Regions from separate parts of the Homo sapiens genome. Here region 2 is linked to region 1. Evidence: promoter capture Hi-C in 16 types of primary human blood cells and fetal thymus (Javierre and others, 2016). All regions are on one chromosome and are shown on one strand. The core of a region is centred on a gene start or on the middle of the fragment in contact, and the rest is flanking DNA. Distances in the headings are between cores, read along the strand shown.

The links. Contacts are between HindIII fragments. The CHiCAGO score rates a contact against its expected background, and 5 or more counts as called.
Region 2: a fragment that was not itself captured here is called in contact with the fragment with the promoter of UBQLNL in region 1 in 1 of 17 cell types (monocytes); the score reaches 5.2 in monocytes.

What each region holds. Positions count from the first base shown.
Region 1 is chr11:5,513,845-5,518,380 of GRCh38, forward strand. UBQLNL (ubiquilin like) reads right to left here and starts at 2,855. Exons shown (of 1, transcript NM_145053.5): 1 at 549-2,855. The coding sequence starts at 2,597. The coding sequence ends at 1,170. It also overlaps the pseudogene OLFM5P. The HindIII fragment of the contact is 7,757 bases long and covers 1-4,536 here.
Region 2 is chr11:5,769,292-5,773,631 of GRCh38, forward strand. No RefSeq gene overlaps it. Among named protein-coding and RNA genes, the nearest start is that of OR56B2, 10 kb to the left of the region's middle. The HindIII fragment of the contact is 1,130 bases long and covers 1,328-2,457 here.

The DNA of each region.
Region 1 (4,536 bases), core at 1,605-4,104:
ACTATTCATCCGGACTTGGTTAATATGTGAATTCACCCTACTCTGGCCCTCATATTATTCCTGTTCCACTTTCAAACTTGAACAATTTGGGTTTGAGAAATTCAGGCAGTCTTTATGACTAAATATCTGGGCCTATCTATGTAAAATGTTTCCCTTTCTGTTTGAGCATGTTATGATTGTTTTCCCTACATATGGGTCTATTTATGTGTCTCTAGGTATTTGCATCTGTGTTTGCACATGGCTGTGTGTACTCATATGTGGACTCTATATGCCTGTATATGTGAATTTTTTACTATGTGAGCTTGTGTACATACACACACCTGTCCAAGGTGACATGCTCAAAATAATCAGTTTCATATACCATGCTCAAGTTTCATATACCATGCTCAAAATGCTCATGTTTTAGAGATAAAAACATTATTTTTATCTCTATATTAATATATGCATGTGGTTTGTGTGTTAATGTACATATAGTAGGTGAGACAAAAATCTCACACAGCTAGTTTTTTCTTTTTTTTTTTGCAAAAGAAGTAAAGCCAAACCTCAGATCGCAGCAAGTGAGTGTAGCCATTTTATTGACAGATGTTTCAGCCACGACCAATGATCTATTATTCAGTACAAGACACATTGGTTGATAACTCTTATTCCAGGACTTCTCCTGGCTGGAAGCATCAGGAAAGGTGCAAAAGGCAAATGAGATGGTCAGGTGGGTCAGCAGGCAGGTAGCAAGCAAACAAGTAGGCATGGTGGTTAGAATCTCTGGGATCTCTTGAGCTTGCGGATAGCAGCATTGGTGTCCCCTTCAGTAGCAATGAGTGCCTGTAGATTGGCATGGTGGTTCCCAAATCCCATGGCCTGGAGAGAATCCATCTGTTTGCTAAAACAAATCTCAGGAGCTTGCAGAGGGTGGGAAGGGTCCCCATCCGGGGATTGTAGCCTCTGCAGGACTGTTCCAGGCTTGTGGCAGCACTCAGGTCCCTTGGGCTCAGCTGTATCTGAAACATTCCAGGAACAGGGCACTGTGTCAGGATAGCTGCAGCTGGGGGCAGGAAGCCAACCCAGGCCCCATAGGTAGGGTGCAACCCAAGGCAGAAGAACAGGAGCCTCTGTGGCCAGCAGCTGGAGGGCCTGCTCAATCTGCAATATTGCTTGGAATGCTTTAGGGTTGCCTAAGCACTAAGCAGATCAGAAATCTGTGTCTGCTGCAGGAATGTGGGCAGCTGCTGCCTCCACTGTTCACTCAGCTGGGGCATACTTGTGAACAACATAATCTGAGCTGCCAGGTAGGGGTTGTTCATAAGCAACTGCATCATGCCTCCTGTGATCTGGGAGCTGCTCTGCTCATCTGACAGCTGGAGATCACCCTTTAATGTCTGTCTGGAGCTACTTAGAGAAACAGTGGCATCCTTGTATTCTTCTTGAAGCTGCTGGGTAAGCTCTATGCTAGGTAAGGCTGGTATCCAAGCTGGCTGCCGAGTGGCACAGATATGGCTCTGGCCCTTGGTGGAAATCATAGCAGTGTTGGCTTTGGAAGTGTGGTTGACCTTGTTAAGGGTGTCATTGGCTGAGGTGTTTGAAGAGAAACCACCAGAGCTATTATAGATGACTCGGGTTGCAGGATGCTGTGTGAGCTGGTCTTGTTGTTCCTGTGATGGTGGTGGAGGTGGGGGTGAAGACTGGACTTGTTCTAGCACTTGTCCTGCCAGGAGAGCTGTGAAAGGGTTTCCTCCAAAAGGATCTTGCATGCTGTTCAGCATTTGATCATTGATATCAGCATAGTTCTGACCCAGGGCATTATTCCCACCTGGCATTGTCTCTAAGCCCAGATATGGCTGTGGGTTCAGTGGATACTCAAGGTTTTGTGAAGGTTGTTGGATCTGCATTATCTCTTGGATCATAGCAAGGTTCCTGGCCAGCTCCAGAGTCTGCAATAGGATCTCAGAATTATCAAGAAGAAGGCGGGAAACTTCTGGGTTCTGCTGCATCAATTGTTGCGTGTCTAGATGTTCTGAAATGAACTGCCACATGAACTCCATGTTGGACAGAAGCCGCTGGATGCTAGGATTCTCCAGCATCTGTGCTTTGCACTCTGGGTGGCTCACTTCCAAGTTTTGGGTATGCACTTTGGGTGCATCAGACCCCACAAAGTGGGCCAGTTCCACTGGAGCTTGATTCATACCAGTTGGTTGGTGCACTCTGCTGCTGTTTCCTTTGGTGTTTCTGTCCCGGTGGCAGGGATCATTCGTTGGCAGGTCCCGGAAGGAATGGGCTAGAGATCTGGAGCCCTGCTTGGACTTGATGACCAAGTAGATGGTGTGGCCATCCATGATGCCCCTCTGGCTCAGTGTGTCATGGTCTTTGAGAAGGCAACCCATGAAGACCAGCACTAGTTGGTCCATCTGGCATTGGAAGTGAGCCAATAGCATCTCCTTGAACTGCCTTACCGAGATGTCATCAGCTACCATAAAGTCTTTCTGGTTGCCTGCAGTCTTCACTATCACTCGAGTGGCACTTGAAGAGATATTTTTGTCTGCCAGCAGACCTGATGGACATCCACTCTGGGACATCCTGGATGTTCGAGAGATGGCATGCCACATGGGCTTTAGTGGGTGGGCAGATGGGGAGCAGGTGGAAGCTGGGGCAGAAAGGGTGAGGGCAGACAAATGTTTCTGCTGGCCTTTGTCTCAGGTATTGTGCTCTCAGGCCACAGGATAGTTTCCTTGTTGCCCTAAAAGGGATGAGTGACCAGACTGGGGCCAGATATTTTGTGATGTTGTGCCCTCACCCCAGTTCTCCAGATGTGGCCCAGCTGAGGCCTGGCATAGCTACTGATTCATAATTCACCCATGGTGGACAAAGTGGTGATGACTTCTCCTAGGGCTACCCCTCCTCCTACCCCACCCACCAGGGGCATGAATCCTCAGAAAAGGGATATTGTGATGTCAACTCTATCCTCGCAGTCACCCTGGGCCAGCTGGGGAAGGAGGACATATTTAGGGGTCCAGGGCTCTACAATAAAATAAAATAATTTTCCAGAAAACAGGGACAAAGTTCTCTGGATGGAACTAGTAAGAAAACAAAAAAGTAAATAAAAACCATATTTTTAAATGTGGGATGTGTGTTTCCGTGTGATACTGTGTGTATGTTCCTTATAGGGATGTTAGACTTGTATGAAAAGTTGGGTCTACTGAAGCCATAGATAAAGCCACATTCCTATAAGAATGCAGTCTCTCCCATAGGAAGGAGCGCATTAATTTTTTTAATGATCTGGAAATTTGGGTCTTATATAGAGTCTAGATTTTGGGATTCTATATTTAATTGTGCTCCCATGTGGTGGGGAAAATTTTCCTCTGTCCTAGGAAGCAGGAGTAGGGCTAACCAGGAAGGCTCTTCATAGGCACATGCCAAACTAAATGTGAATTAGCTCTTTTTTATAATATGCCTTTTATTCACATATCACTTGGTCTCTTCTACATGTCAATATAACAGAAGTTTTAGAATGATTTGTTTCAATGTCCTAACCCACTCTTGTGTGCCCACCTTTATGTCAAAGCATTAAGGGGGAATGTCGTCTGTAAATCAAGAGGTGGGAGAGGAGGTGGTTAGTAGTAAAATTCTTAAGGGGACAAATACAGGCAACTAAAAAGCTGGATTCTTGGTCCCATGTAAATTTGGAGAATTGTGTTTGGTTTTTATTTAGATGCAGATGGAAATAATTATTTATATGAGTGAGAGTGTACATGTCTTATCGAATGTATATATGAAATTGTATGCATATTCTGTGTTACTAGGAAGCCTTCAGGGTCTGGATTTTATATATTCCATCCACCTGCCTGGAGAGGGAGGAGCACCACACAGATAGCTAAGGAACAAGCAAAAAGCTCGAGCCCATATGTTCCCAGTGTGTTGAAGACAAGCAAAGGGATGATAGGCCGTTGGCCAGGAGACCTTCTGCTATCAAACCAATGATTCTTTATTGAGAATATCTAGACCCCCAGCACCATCCATGTCAGATCCTCATCATGCTATAAGGCCAGTTGCTAACTTACTACAGCAAGACTCAGGCCTATTCTCTTGCAATTGCACTCAAAAGTGAGATCGATCCAGGACAATGAAAAATTGATTACCAGACCAAGATCTTGCCCCTTTTCTCCCCAGGGACCTCACAGGAAGGTGGAGATAAGAAAGGGAACTTTCATATCCTACTCTAATGACCAGCTGCCCTGCAGCTTCTGCACTGGAATCAGGTGTTCCCAACCTGAGATTGACAATTCTAGATCACAGAACTCTTGAGTTCCGGGAGCTGGATTTATGAAAAAAGGAATATGAGATGCCAAAGCATCAGAAAGAGAGGGTACCATTTTCTTAGCTAATATTTTACTTTTTCCCTATCAAATCCACCTAGACCATTATTAAAGGGAACCTTAATGTACTGATTGAGATATTAATTACATAAAGAACTCACTAGATATAATCAGTCTTCCAATCATTAGGACCAATGGCCACTTTGGGATGTGGTCCTCCTGGAGGTAAGGA
Region 2 (4,340 bases), core at 643-3,142, 250 kb after region 1:
CCTAGACTAACTCTGAGAGTATGAAGCACTCAATGATGTTACTTAATACATGAAAACATAAAAAAAGGAAGATGCAAAGTTGTCTGTGTGAGCAATTAACACATTCTGTGCTTGCTTCCAATTTGTATGCCACAAGGCCTTAAGCAAAAAGAAACAACTCTGCAATCTTATTAATAACATAATTTTTAAAATAAAAACATCCTGTGTTCTTTCTCGCTTCCCCCCACATATACATGGCCACACATAAGCACATGTACAGATACATTCATAGGAAAGTATTCACTAGTTACTTATGAGGCATCATATAGGTGATGAGCATGGAGTGTTTCCACCCTTTCATCTCCTGTGAGCGTTGTCTTAATTCCAACACTGTGACCCTAATTATATGAAATATCCCCTTGGGACATATAACACATAATTTTCTTTAAAGGCTCATATCAGTAGTAAAGGTATCAAGGGATTTTAATGTTGGGGGGAGTACATGTACATATATTGTAGGATTCTCATGTGTTCTTTGACCAAGATTCTGAACATCTGGGCCAAACTGCATTCAGCTCATTCTATTGGCATCTGGAAATTAGGTATTAAAGGACATAAAAAGGAGACAGGGGTAGTGACAGGATTTTTCTTGTTGTAGTTCATAGTAGATAAATTGGAGAGATGTTTTGCCAAAGTGTACAGAATCTTTGAGTGTATACTATTATTATTCTCAGAAATTCAGACTTGATTTCATCCACTTAGTTTGAAGGTAGAAGTGTTGCAGACATTTGTTTTGCAGAATGTTTATTTCCCCAATTTTCAGGTTTTCATTCAGCGAAATTTTTATGATGATTTTGAATATTTATAAACAAAGCAAACAGGAATCATTGGAAATGATGAAAGTCAGGTATGAACCACCCGACAACATGGAGAAAAAATAGAAAACAGTTCTTGATTATGGTCAGAATTCTTCCATAATCAAGTTCTTACCTGCCCTCCTCTTGTTCCTTAGAATAAGAATCTAATTAACTGGCTTTATTCCTAGACAGACATAGTTGTGACTGTGTTTCATTGATTTTGGACAGCAAACATACTTGGATGAACCTACAGTCATTTTGAGAAAAGAGCATGGTCTGTAAAGACTGAGCATGGTCAAGTGAGGAAACAAAGTTACTATTTACAGAGTTTGGGGTGAAAATGCACAACCGATGATATCAAAATCATACTTTATAAATGGTGGTATTTGTTTTTAATGTTATCACTTAATAGACCTACTCACTCACAGCATAATACAAATCTATTATTCTTGCAGAATTATAAAGTAATATAGTATTAAAAGCATTTTATAAGCTTATATTTCTTGATGAGACTCATCACTTTTTAAAAAAAGTTGTGGCCCTCAGCTTCAAATCCTGATAATCGGGAACTCAGCGTATTGGGGACTAGAAGGTATTATAATTTCCCTTTTTCATAAAATATAAAGCTGAATTATCTTTCTTTCATCACCAGCAATTAGATAGATTTGTGTAAATTTACATTGCCACAGCAGTCACATTGCCCAGCTGAGTTTCCAGCAAGTATAAATATCATTCTCAGAGGCAATTTATAGTACAGTTCAAACAGACATCTTTCTCAATCGAAATCTCTTTCCCTTTGACTCTCGGGAAGCACAAATTAGAGAAATACAGAAAGCGGCATGTAAGATAAAATTAAAATGTAGCTGCTGTATTAAAAGAAGAGAGAATTAACAAAGTAAAATAAATTTTTGCTAACTTTAAAAAAAGCGTTTTTAATTTGTTTTGGAGAAAGTATTATATAACTTGTGCTTAGTGCTATATTATTTTGTATCAGCAAGATCTTTAACTGAGATGCTTATAAATGTAATTGAGATGAGAACTAAACTTCTCATGTAACAATAAAGCCAGTTTTAGTAATTAAAACTATATAAAAAGGAAACACAAGAGACATAAATAGGATATTTATGTGTTTCCCTTTTATAGTTACAGTTTTAATATATATTAATATAAGGTATATTAAATATATGAGATATAATGTAATATATATTAAATATATAATGTGAGATATTATATATGTAACATAAGATAAATATGCAATGTGAGATAAAGACAGCATAACTCATCCTAAAGATATATTTTTTATTTTCAACCTAGAGGTATCTTTACGTTCTCTAATTTCTCTACTTGCTTCTGTTACAGACATATAGAGTTAAGAGTTGACTGCTTAAATGAATCGATCAGGAAAAGCAAGCAATAATTCAATATTTTTCAAATATTTATGAGAACTTGGCATATATTAGTCAAATATTTATCAAACTACATTAGAAAATCTAGCTTATTTTCACAGTAATCTATACAATTATGTATGTATGTGTATAAATTATTAATTTAGTTTCTTTAATAATAAATTGTAAAGGAAATTTGAAAAATAGAATACACAAACATGAAGAACAAATTTACAAGCTTCACAGAAAGAAAATTGATAATTTTGTTATACAAGGAAACACTTTCTCATTTTGTAAGCACATATTTTTCTTATAACCAGAATACTAATTACAAAGCTTTTCTTAGCCTTGAAATTATTTGTGTAAATCCATACCAGTGTTGCTAAGTCGAAAATTGAAGATCAGCCAAGAAGTTGTGTTAATGTAAGTGGATTCCCCATTTTAAAATTTTCATTGTGTACTAATAATGTGAGAAAAATAACTTCAGTGTTTTCCATTATTTTGCTTGAGGGAAACTGTGTCAGACAGGAAAATGAAACAATTTGGTTCAATCAGTTTGATTTTTTTTTAATTTTCAATTTTTTGTGGGTACATATTACATGTATATATTTATGGGGTATATGAGATGTTTTTATACAGGCATGCAATGCATAATAATCACATCATGGAGGATGGGTTATCCATTCCTACAAGCATTTATCTTTGGTGTTACAAACAATCTAATTATACTACTCATTCTTAAATGTACAATTAAGTTATTATTGACTATAGTCACCCTGTTGTGCTATCAAATACTAGGTCTTATTCATTCTTTATAACTTTTTTTTTTGTACTCATTAACCATCACCACCTTCCCCGCCAGCTCCCACCCCAACCCACTACCCTTCCCGGCCTCTAGTAATTATCCTTCTATTCTCTATGATCATGAGTTCAATTGTTTTGGTTTTTAGATACCACAAATAAGTGAGAACATGTGATGTTTGTCTTTCTTGCCTGAACATAATTATTATGGTATTTTACTTCACATAATAATCTCCAGTTCCATCCCTGTTGTTGCAAATGACAGGATCTCATTCTTTACTGTGGCTGAATAGTACTCCACCGTGTATATGTACCAAATTTTCTTTATCCATTCATCTGTTGATGGACACAGGTTGCTTCCAAATCTTGGCTATTCTGAACAGTGCTGCAATCAGCTTTAATTGCATGGTGTCATGCATTTCATCTATTGTTTATCGAAAGTTGTCTCTACCCAGTACTTACTTTCTTTGGTTTCTACTTTGACTTTAATATTTCCTCAAAAAATTTTGGGGAAGGTTTTTAGTATGTTTAGTTTCTATTTCTATGAAACTCTTTGTGCATATATTGTATATAGTTTTGCCTTTGTACTTTTTTATTGCATATGTATGTATGTATGTGTATGTATGTATATGTGTGTGTATATAAATATATTTTATATATATATATTTTATATATATATATATATCCTAGCCCTGTGAAATAGGATCAACTTGTGGTAGAGATTAAATAATTAACCTTTACCTCCCAAACCAAAATATTTGTTTGGTTTGCCACCTTATTTACTTATTTATTTATTTTACCTTTTGGGGTTATCCTTTGTTTTCCCTAGGATTTTTCCAGGAATATTTTTTACAACATTATTAATCAAAAAGTAGAAATGACGTATATATCCATCGATTGCTGAAAGGATAAGCAAAATAAAGTATACCCATAAAAGGAATTATTATGGAATTATTATTCTGTCACCAGAAGAAGTGAAGTATGGTACATGTTGCAACATATATAACTATTGAAAACATATTAAGTGAAAAAGTTAGACTCAGTTGCCCATCTCTTGTGTGATTCCATTTATATGAATACCTACAATAGTCCATAGAAACAGAAAGCAAATGAATTGCTGTCAGAGCCAAGGGGGACAGGATGATAAGGACAGACTGACTAATGGTTACGGAGTTTCCTTTTGAGATGATGAAAGTATTCTGGGCTTACATACAGGTGATGGTTGCACAGCATTGTAACCATATTTAAAGCCACTCAATTGTACACTTAATTTTATTATTTTTAAATTTTGTGGATGCATAGTAGGTATTTATTATTT